Linked DNA regions of Homo sapiens: region 1 is linked to region 2. The links are contacts of gene promoters, found by promoter capture Hi-C in human tissues and cell types (Jung and others, 2019). All regions are on one chromosome and are shown on one strand. Each heading gives the region's core, a stretch centred on a gene start or on the middle of the fragment in contact. The rest is flanking DNA. Distances are from core to core; before and after follow the strand shown.

Region 1 (5,040 bases), core at 1,375-3,874, 800 kb before region 2:
ATCAACGCCTGGAGAAAAGAGCAGAAAGCTGGAAGCATGAGTCCAGGAGTTAGACTCAGCTTGGAACTTGCTCTGTAATCCGAGTCAAGTCACCTCCTTCTTCAGGTGTCATTGTGGATTTCACCACACAAGTACTGAGGCTAGGAAAACAAAAAGTATTAAACCTGTGCTAAAGGTACTTTTACATAGTGTCAAGGACGATGAATGGGTCTGAGAATTTTCCCAACTTGAAATCTAATAAGCTGGTCAGCCACAATGTCATGGATGCTGACAAAAAACATGAGATTCCTGGGTCAGAGGCAAACAGAGCAAGCAGCATGAGAGTCAGCATATTTGAATCAGCACCTCTTGCTCCTGAGCTGTACAGGAGTGACACACATGTACCCAGAAGGAAGCCTGAACACGGTTGCATTTTAGGATAGGAATTCTTGAGTTTAGGGAATCTGAATCTTTTCCAATGGGCAATAAGCATGCCTGCTCTAGGGGAAGACATTCTATGTGCCAAGGCTGTTTGCTATACAAACATCCTTGAAGAGACAGTCCAGAACAAATGGCAACCAATACTTTGCTCACAAAACATGCCGCAATGTGAGAGATCCTTTAAGAATTATCTCCCAAAATCTGGCAACCTGTATATATACAAAAGAGGCAAATTATACTTATATATCACTTTACTGGGAAAACTGTTTCCAGAAGATATACTTAATTATGGTCTTTCTTTAGAATTTAAATTTAATGCAAATAATAACAAGCTTTCCCAGTAAACATCTCACTTTATAAATGGAGGCTTATTCTCTCAAATGCCAAGCAATAATATTGTATTTAATTAATGGGGTATCATGCTTATTAGAACCTATCATTATTTGAGACTCCAATATGGACCAGATACTGTGCTAGTTTTGTGATTGATCTGTATTATTACATTTTATGTTAAAAAATTACTGCAAATTAGACATTATTTTACAAGTGTTGGAAACTGAAGCTAAATGATCAACATCTAGGTACATTTGCTTCCTAAAGCCATGCTTTTTCTACTAACCTGTGTGGTTGGCATGGTAGCCAACAAATAACACATGGAAATTGAAGTGGCCTGAAACCTAAGTCGTAGTCATTGACAACTAAGGTTTACTGAGTGCTGCCTGAACTCAGTCATTCTCATTTTCTAAGCCAGCGCATCAATCTCATGTGTATGGGAGATACCTGAGGAGTAGGTGAAGACGCAGATTCTTAAGCTTCAGCCCAGAAGATTCTAGTTCAAATGATCTTTGTTGAGGCCCAATAATTTCTATTTTAAACAAACTCTTGAAAATATTTTAAATGCTGGTGGTCCTTAAAACTCATCTGAAGAACACTAGGAAAGAATAAAATCTATAAAAAGAACGATATAAGAGCAGTGACAAGGTGGCCACTCTAGAGCAGATTTATAGTTTTACAAAATGTAGGGGTGCCAGTTAATTTGAAGAGCTACTATAGAAGCTAATCAGAAAGAGAAATTTAAACAACAACAAAAATAGAAACACACATTATTATCAACCAAATGTGGGACTGGATTATGAAAAATACAGGGGAAGATAATATCCAAAATATATAGATATAGAAGTGACCTGGTTTGTTATTTTATTATTTAAATTAAGAATTCTAGATCCCAATCTTTTCATAAAGATTTATTTCTTACTTCCCAAAGATTTTATGAGAAATAGAGCAGACCAGCATGCAGGGAAATGCCATGAAATTTGCAACCTCTGTGAGCCTCAGAAAAATGGGAATAATAAATTTGGCTTTGTAGGGGTCTTATAAAGATTAAAATTATTTTTCAAGTATCTAATATAGTATCTAGCACACTGTAGGCACTCATTAAATGTAGTGGAGGTATGCGCTTTTCTTCTGTTTTTCCACCAAAGTCACAAATGAGTGAGAAAGCAACAATTGCTAAGTCAATCCTGAGTCAAGCTTGGCACCAAGGCTGATTGTGAAAGGTTCTTGTCCTGCTTCCAGCGCCTGATTTGAGATCTGAAGCAGGAAGGGGATGCTGAGAGCAGTCTTGCATTCTAAAGGTGAAGGGTTTCCGCCAGAGGGTAGAACTTTGCTTTTCATGGATACTATGTCATCATGTACTAAAGTTTGGTATATTCTTCAGGTTTGTCTCTAATAGATGTGAATACAAATCAGTGATATTTAATGATTTCATATGTATTTTGTTCAATAGCTAAATCTAATTCTCAAGGATTAAGTAATTTTAAATGAAGGATATAAGATACGATATAAGAAAAAAGAAAGGTTGCAGTATATATTGGGTTGATATCTAAAGCTTGTCATTCCCTGTCTGAAAGCTGCAATATATAATCCATTTGCTTTTTCATTTCCAGTGTTCAAATTCTATCTTCAGCATAGTGAGCCCAAACAAAACCAATTCCTTTCATGCCCTCTACTGGATATTTGAAGTTAAACGTCAATAACACTGCAAAGTAACCAAAATAATGATACACATAATATCCAGAATGTTCTTTTATAGCCTCTTTAAATAAAAATTCGTTTACATTGGTTCACTGGTATCAGATTTCCTTTTTCTGCCTAAAATGCAAATTTCAGAGTCACTTCTTCGTATTATATGGAAATTATTTGTTGAGGGAAAAGGAGTGAATAAACGTAGTTTGTATAACTGACACCTTTGAGGTGTCTCAAAGGAACAGCGGTGTCATTGGCTGCTGTGATATTTAAGCTTCCTTTTTGTTTCTGTCCTGGTTCAATAGTAAAATCTACCAGCAGTTGAAATCTGTATTAGAAGGGTGGGATGGTAGAGCCCACAACTGAAAAAATTCTCCATATTAGCTGTTTCCATCAGACAAAACCCATCAGAAGGAGGGCAAAGAAGTTCTTTGCTTGGTGACCTGGCTGTCTATAGCCATCTTTGCATCCACTTTAAGGGTGTCTGGAAAGATGTCCCCTTGCTCCCAATTCAGCTCACCTACCCTCTCCCAGGGCTTTGTTTTACTCAGCAGTGCCATACCAATTATTAAATTTGTAAAATTTCCATAGCAGTTGTTACGTGGCCACTGCCCTTAGCTACCGTCTGCCACTCACCATGCCTTGACTTTCCCACAATCAAGAAATTGAAAGGTCAAATCCGGGTCTACTCACTCCAGGAAATTTCCTGATCCAATCCACCCAGACACCTAGATCCTTCAGGCCCTACACAGGCCTAAATGGGTGTAGTCCTGTCTATGTCAATCTGGCCTGAAACATCAGCACCAGAGATGTTACTGCAGAGCTACACGTCAGCAGGACCAAGGAAGAAAGGAGGTCCCATGTTTTTCTCTCTACGTAGCAATAATAGGTAAGATTTATGGAGAACATATTACATGCCAGCTATAATACGCATTGTTTCATTCACTCTATAACGGCTCTATTTTACAGATGAGTAAACAGAAACATCTGATAACTTCCACCTAGTGCATGGAGAGCTAGAATTTGAAGTAGGGCTGACCAATACCAAAGCCTGATGTCTAGTGAAATTCACACAATGCTGCAAATCTGAAGACTCTGCAGCAGATTTTGTAGGTACTTTCAGCAGAGGAGTTTCAGAAATGCTTTGCACAAACACAGGTTCACCAAGTGAGTGATCACACGGGAAGACCACGTGGGAAGGTGGGTAGTCTCAGTCACTCTCAGTTGCACCCTTTACTTCAGGGAGGGCAAGGGAACAAAACTTCGGATTACCAATGATGTAACTCCCATAAAAACCAAGTAAGAAAAGTCCCCCAGACTTCTCCTTCAGCTTGTTACTTAATATTGGGTGTTGAAGGATCTTTGGGGATGGGAGGAGGAACAATCATGATTCTCATGCAAATATAAAACATGCTTATGTCAAACTTTCATTTAACTCATTAATTAAATGAGGTAACAGGTAAAATAATAGTAGAAGCTAATAACTCAACATGAAATCCCATAGCTCAATTGCATGGTGATTGAGAGAATAAGACTTCATTAACAACAGGTTCAGAGAAAGCCAAAAAGCAGAGACATTTATAGATCAGGAAGAGTGAAATGGATTTGCAAATGGAAACAAAATTGGTGCTTTTGTGTGTGTGGACAGGGAGGAGTCAATTAACTTTCCACTGGACAGAATTTATTTATATGCCTATGGGCATATTTGCATTGCTATCAGTTTTGTACAAGTTAACTTTGATCCCTACAAAATTATAAAATAGCCTAGTCAAAGACAAAGGTGCATATTTGGATAGGAACATAATCCCCAGTGGTTATAGCATTACCTGGAACATTACCTTGAAAAAACATTAATCCTGATCAATCTTGTTTTGTTTATTCCAATGTCTTTTTTTTTTTTTTTTTTTTTTTTTTTTTGGAGACGGAGTCTCCCTTTGTCACCCAAGCAATTGTTCGTGCAGTGGCAAGATCTCAGCTCACTGCAACCTCCATCTCCCGAGTTCTAAATGATTCTCCTGTCTCAGCCTCCAAGTAGCTGGGATTACAAGCGTGTGCCACCACACCCAGCTAATTTTGTTTCCTAACATGGATCAAGTGGTGAAAAAAATCAATAGAACTAATTCTTTAGCACTGACCTACGTTTATGAGCAGTTGCCGTAGGGTTTGGATTGGGGAATGAGCAAGAAAGATTAGGAAAATTAAAATTTACTCTCTCCAGCCTCATTCTCAGGAGAGTATTTCAGAGATGAAATATAAAAGCAAAGATCTGTAATCCCAGCACTTTGGGAGGCTGAGGTGGGCAGATCACCTGAGGTCAGGAGTTGACCAGCCTGGCCAACATGGTGAGACCCTGTCTCTACTAAAAATACAAAAAATTAGCCAGGCGTGGTGGCATGGACCTGTAATCCCAGCTACTCTGGAGGCTGAGGCAGGCAAATTGCTTGATCCCAGTAGGTGGTTACAGTGAGCCGAGATTGCGCCACTGCACTCCAGCCTGGGTGACACAGTGAGACTACGTCCCAAAAAAAAAAAAAGCAAAGATATGTTCTCATTTATTAATTAATGTAACTAGTTCTTATTGACACCTACTATATG
Region 2 (5,677 bases), core at 64-2,563:
ATTGTTGACAATTGTTAAATGAGAATATTCCTAAAATCTGAACTTTTTCTTGGGAAAGCAGTTCAAAACTATAGTCTATTTAATGAGGTGGCCATCTGGTGACAGAAAGAAGCACTACAGACAATATTTTGCATTAACATCACAACTATTCTACACAAACCGACTGAACCACATAAAAGAGAGCACAGTCCAAAAGAAACATAATTCAAGTCATACATGCAATTTAAAATTTATCTAACAGCCGCATTTTCAAAATAGAAACAATAATTTTAACAATATTTTTTATTTAACCCAATGTATCAAAAATATTATTTCAACATTTAATCAATATGAAGATTAATAACGAAAGAGTTTATTTTTTTCATACTAAGCCTTCAAAATACAATGCGTACCTTACAGCACATGTCAATTTGGACAAGCCACATTTCAAGCGATCATGGGCCCTGCGAGTCTGTGGGTAGCGGCTCACCCTGCTGGACTGCGCAGATCCAGAGAACGACACGAGACCTGCGGTTGCTTTGGTTTGCCTTTTACTAAGTTCATTTCTCAGCCTCTCTGCCCACTCTGAAAAGTCTCCCCTTTCCCCCCTTTTAATTCTACTCTATTTTGTAAATTACTGTTGTCTCCTGAAAATTTTGGAATGCTTAAAAGGCACTCAAAAGCCTGTCCGAGATCGACTAGAAGACCCTCGGAAGGTCCCTCTCTTCTCTGGACCTCACTGGGCGTTCGTTTGCCCGCGCCGTCCTTCCATTCGGCTTGCCGGGCGCGCAGCGGCTTGCGGCTGTGGTCAGCCACCTTCCCGGGAGGCGGTGGTCGCTGGCCGCGGGAAGGATGCCGCGCTGGGGGTCGGGGTTCGTCCCGGCTGTCACGCCACCTTGTGACATCACAGGGCCATGCCCTCGGGGCTCAAGGCCAGAGAGGCTCCGCGCTTCCAGGACCCGAGAGCTAAAGATAATGAATGGGAGAGAGCGAGACTGGAGGAGGTAACGAATAAGTCCCCACCACCTTGCCCATAACGCGTTGCTTTCAGTCACGTTCCGCGAACTGGCGAAGGTAAGTGAAAAGATAAGCGCAGGTACAGAAAAACCTGCCAGCGAGAAGCTCCCGCCGTTTCCCAGGAGCCCCAGGTGGGGTCTTCCGGTTGGACCCCTGCTTCCGCTGATTGGTTGGAGGTCGCCACCACGTGATGCAAACCCGGGTCGGCCTCCGCTTCCCCCCCACCCTTTTATCCCCCTCCCCGCCCCTTTTCTCCTCCTCCCCACCCGGAGGTCGCCGGAGGCGGAGATCAGGTTACCTAGGCAACCGCCACAGGCAGTCTGTACACACCAGGCCTGGGGCGGGAGAGGGTTTCCTACCTTCTGCTGCAAGACAGGGATTGGGAAATCGGAGTGGACTCGGACTTGAATCGGATTGCCCCGGAATCCACCCTCTCTCTGTGATAAGGTCAGAATCCGTCACCTGGTGGCCTTCGGGCGTACATCACCGGGAGTCTTTGATCCCCTCTTTTTCCTTCCAAGCCATACCAAGGGGAAGACGCCAGTGAAGCAAAGTTGAGGTCAAGGGAACTCCGTAATGGTGCAATGGTGATGATAATGATGAAAGACAGTGAGGTGGCTTTACTGAGGCAGTCAGGGTACCAGAACAAAGTTCAAGAGAAGGAAAGGGAGGGTGGCCTACAGCCAACTATGCAGATTTTACTGCACCAATTAAGATTCTGGGCTGGAAAAACCAAGTGCTCCCTAACCAAACCTGACACTGCTCATCTAGAGAGTGTAGGGGGTTTATTTGGACCATCAGTGGTAACTGATGGATTCTGATCCTTTTATACCCAAAGGAGGAAATAATTTGACCCATACAGGACTTCTACTGGGCAGAGAAAAAAAAAGTTTTCTCAGAATGACATCCTAACCAACTCTCACGGCAGACAGAAACCATGGTCCTTTTTACTCTATCATTATACTCTGGTCATGGAGAACGATTATGTCTTTAAATTATACCATATGCCTGTGGCATGACAATTAACCCATTAAACAATTTTTTTAACAACTAGCATGTGCCAGACAGTGAACCTGTGATAGGTTCACAGTTTCTGCCTTCAATGAACATGTAACCTAGTAGGGAAGAAAGGCCCGTAAACATTGTTTTACAGTGTGACAAGTGCTATACAAAGAGTATGTGCAAGCCCTAACCAGAATCACAAGAAAGAGAATGCTTATAATACTACCAGAGAGAATGAAAGTCTTCAAAGAGAAGATCTTTGATTTAAATCTTTAGGGAAGTATGGAGTATGCCATACAGCCAAGGGAAAAGGACATTTTAGGGAGAGGAAACAGCCCATGCCAAAGTACAGAAACATCCATTCAGTTCCAGAGAACTATAGTTGTGGCCTGAACCTAGGGTCCTCTGTGGAGGTTGTGGCTGATGAGCATGTGAGGTAGGCAGGAGTCAGAGCATGGAAACCATTAATACCTTCCAAAGGGGTAAAGCATGAGCAGATTTACCTTTCAGGAGGCTGTCACAGTAGTGTAGAGGATGAACTTGAGGGAAGACAGACTACAGGGAGGACATCAAGTTAAGGGGAGGTGATGAGGGCCTGAACCAAGGCAGAGGCAATTGGAATGAGGAGGAGGAAAAAAAATGTGGTAAGACCTTTAAGAGGTATATGCAGAAGGATTTAATGAGTGAATGAAAATAGGGGGATAGAGTCAAAGATTGGTTGAGGATAATAGCTCAACCAATAGAAGAATGGTGGTGTTACTTTTCAAGAGAAGGCATACATTAGGAGAAGGAGGCTGGTTGGAAAATATAATGAGTTCAATTTTGAACACACTGAATTTGAGATGCCTGTGGCACATTCAGATGGAGCTTTTTCATGTGGGCAGTTGGATTTTTTTTTTTTTTTTTTTTTGCACAGAAAAGAAGATAAGGATTTTTCACCATGAAGAAAACAATTGGTTTGAAAAGCACAAAGTAGGCCAGGCACGGTGGCTCATGCCTGTAATCCCAGCACTTTGGGAAGCCGAGGCGGGTGGATCACAAGGTCAGGAGTTCGAGATTAGCCTGGCCAATATGGTGAAACCCTGTCTCTACTAAAAATACAAAAATTAGCCGGGTGTGATGGCACGCGCCTGTAGTGCCAGCTACTTGGGAGGCTGAGGCAGAAGAATTACTTGAACCTGGGAGGCAGAGGTTGGAGTGAGCCCAGATTGTGCCACTGCAGTCAAGCCTGGGCAGCAAAGTGAGATTCTGTCTCAAAAAAAAAATAAATAAATAAATAAGAAAGAAAAAAGAAAAGAAGAAAAGCACAAAGTAAGTTTGAAATAACAAGTAGAGAGAAGCCAAGGAGAAAAGTTGAACCAAAGAAGAAAACGTGAAGAAGAGAGTCGTCAGCATTGTCAAATGCCATGTCAAGGTCAAGTTGAGAATCAAAACATGTCCGCTGTCTTTGGCCATTAGAAGGTTATTTTTGACCTTGTAGTGGCTTGAGGTGTTCTCAGTCCAGATGGCAGTGAATCCAGGACTGAAAGCAGGTAGTGATGTGTTGCTAATGATTATCTAAAAGGTGTACCATAAAGGTATCTAAAAACAGCTATTCATAGAAGAATATAGGAGAGACTTTTTAAGATAGGAAAGACTTAATATTTATATACAGAAATAAAGGAGACCGTTGACAAGGAAATTTGGCAATAAATGAAAGAGGAAAATTTGACAGCAGTATTCTGAAAGAGACAGATAAGGATAGGATCAATACATAGGAAAAGGGATTTGTTTTGGACAAAAGGAAGAACACCTACTAAGACAGGAGTCAGAAGGGAAAGAAAAATACGTCTTTGAGAGGAGGGAAATAAGAAACATACATTTGATGGCACCACTGTTCTCTGTGAAAATGGGGTCAAGATCATCTACTGAGAGAGAGACCTTGAAAAGAGTGGTGAAAGTTTAGAATAGTAATGTCATGAATCTCGAGTCTCTAGTCCCACTCTCCTAGGAGAGGAAATTGAGGAAAATATAAAACATTTGTTGCTGAAGATCTAACTGAAGTTAGAGGCAATGCATTTGTAGTGACTTCAGCTCCATGCTGGTTAGGTGAAATTTTCCAGTAGCAATCCAAAGTGGAAAGATTAATCCTATGCAGTTTGAGGTGTAAAAGCTATAGAAGTTCCTGGTGGCTTCTGGTTTTGTGGGGGAACTAGAGATGACCTTTAGCCTCTTAAATGGGCCAGCCCTGAAAGAGCTTCGAAGAGCAGGAGAGTAGTTACAAGCTGGCCAACAGGACATTCACCTCTTGATGAATTCAGTAACTTCATCTGGAACCCTTGAGTCCATTTGTGACTGGAGAAAACATACAAGACTTGTAAGTACCAGGAAGGCCTAGCATCCTTGTGATTCAGAAATAGTTATACAACTTATAGAATTTGGGGTTTTTAAATTAAATTGTATTTTTCTAATTAGCTGTTGAATTAGAATAAGATTTTCTGCTAAATAAGTGCATTGATGAAGAGAAAATAAGTTGAAGTGAGAGGTAAGATTTGTATCCCAAATAGGCATATTTTTCTTCCAAGGAAAAGTAGTCTCAAGTAAATGGAGAGCTATCCCTTGTTCTTGAGGATGACTCAAAACTGTAATATGGAAGTTCTCCCTAAATTAATCTTTACAATGCAACCTCAACCAAAATCCCAACTGCATTTTTTAAAACTAAATACAAAATAATCCTAAATTTTATTTGGAAAAATAAATATGGAAGAATATCCAGGAAACTGCCAAAAAAGAACATGAGGTGGGAATTTAAAATATAAATCACAGTAATTAAAACAGATACAGTCAGGCGAGGTGGCTCACGCCTGTAGGCTCACGCCTCCCAGCACTCTGGGAAGCTGAGGTGGGTGGATCACGAGGTCTGGAGATCAAGACCATCCTGGCTAACACGGTGAAACCCCGTCTCTACTAAAAATACAAAAAAATTAGCCGGGCGTGGTGGCAGGCGCCTATAGTTCCAGCGACTCCGAAGGCTGAGGCAGGAGTATGGCGTGAACCCGGGAGGTGGAGCTTGCAGTGAGCTGAGATCGCGCCACTGCACTGTACTCCAGCCTGGGAGACAGAGCAAGACTCCGTCTTAAAACAACAATAACAACAACAAAAAACAGATACTCGTGCAGGAATAGTCAGAGCTAATGAAAAACACAGACTAGAAAGTCCAAAATTAGGCCCCAGTGTATGTGATCATTTAGAATATAACAAAGAGAATGATTTAATTCCTTCTACAATAGTTATCTTGGACAAAGGCAAGATAACTTAGAACACCATTTGGTGAATTTGGAGCTTTGAAGGGAAGCGTTTGTCCTTTGTGTGGTGGTGGGCAGCTAGGCTATCCTTTGGTAATCACAGACTTTAATCCAGTATATAAGGGTTTCTCTTTCCACGAGTAGAGGTGCTGCAAAACACTTTTTAAGCTTGGTGCACTATTCAAATAAACCTGGAGAGGTAAGACTATGGCCTGCATCTATGTATGGGCCTTTGATGGAGCTTCCAAATTCTTTCAGGTTGCTTTCTTGACTGGCTTCTCTTGCAGCCTATGCTGTAATATCCTGAGGTTGTCCAAGAATGGAGTAAAGATGAAATTGCCAATGGGAAGCAGGGAAGGAATGCGCGGCATTTCCTTCAATATAGACCCATCATC

The links. Contacts are between HindIII fragments. The study calls those that stand out against the background at their distance.
Region 1: a contact is called between a fragment that was not itself captured here and the fragment with the promoter of LRRC9 in region 2, in 1 of the 25 tissues and cell types used here (hippocampus).

The regions. Positions count from the first base shown.
Region 1 is chr14:59,121,758-59,126,797 of GRCh38, forward strand. No RefSeq gene overlaps it. Among named protein-coding and RNA genes, the nearest start is that of DAAM1, 64 kb to the right of the region's middle. The HindIII fragment of the contact is 5,527 bases long and covers 1-5,040 here.
Region 2 is chr14:59,918,831-59,924,507 of GRCh38, forward strand. It overlaps LRRC9 (leucine rich repeat containing 9), which reads left to right and starts at 1,314. Exons shown (of 33, transcript NM_001395648.1): 1 at 1,314-1,443. RefSeq lists an enhancer at 474-1,673. The HindIII fragment of the contact is 18,773 bases long and covers 1-5,677 here.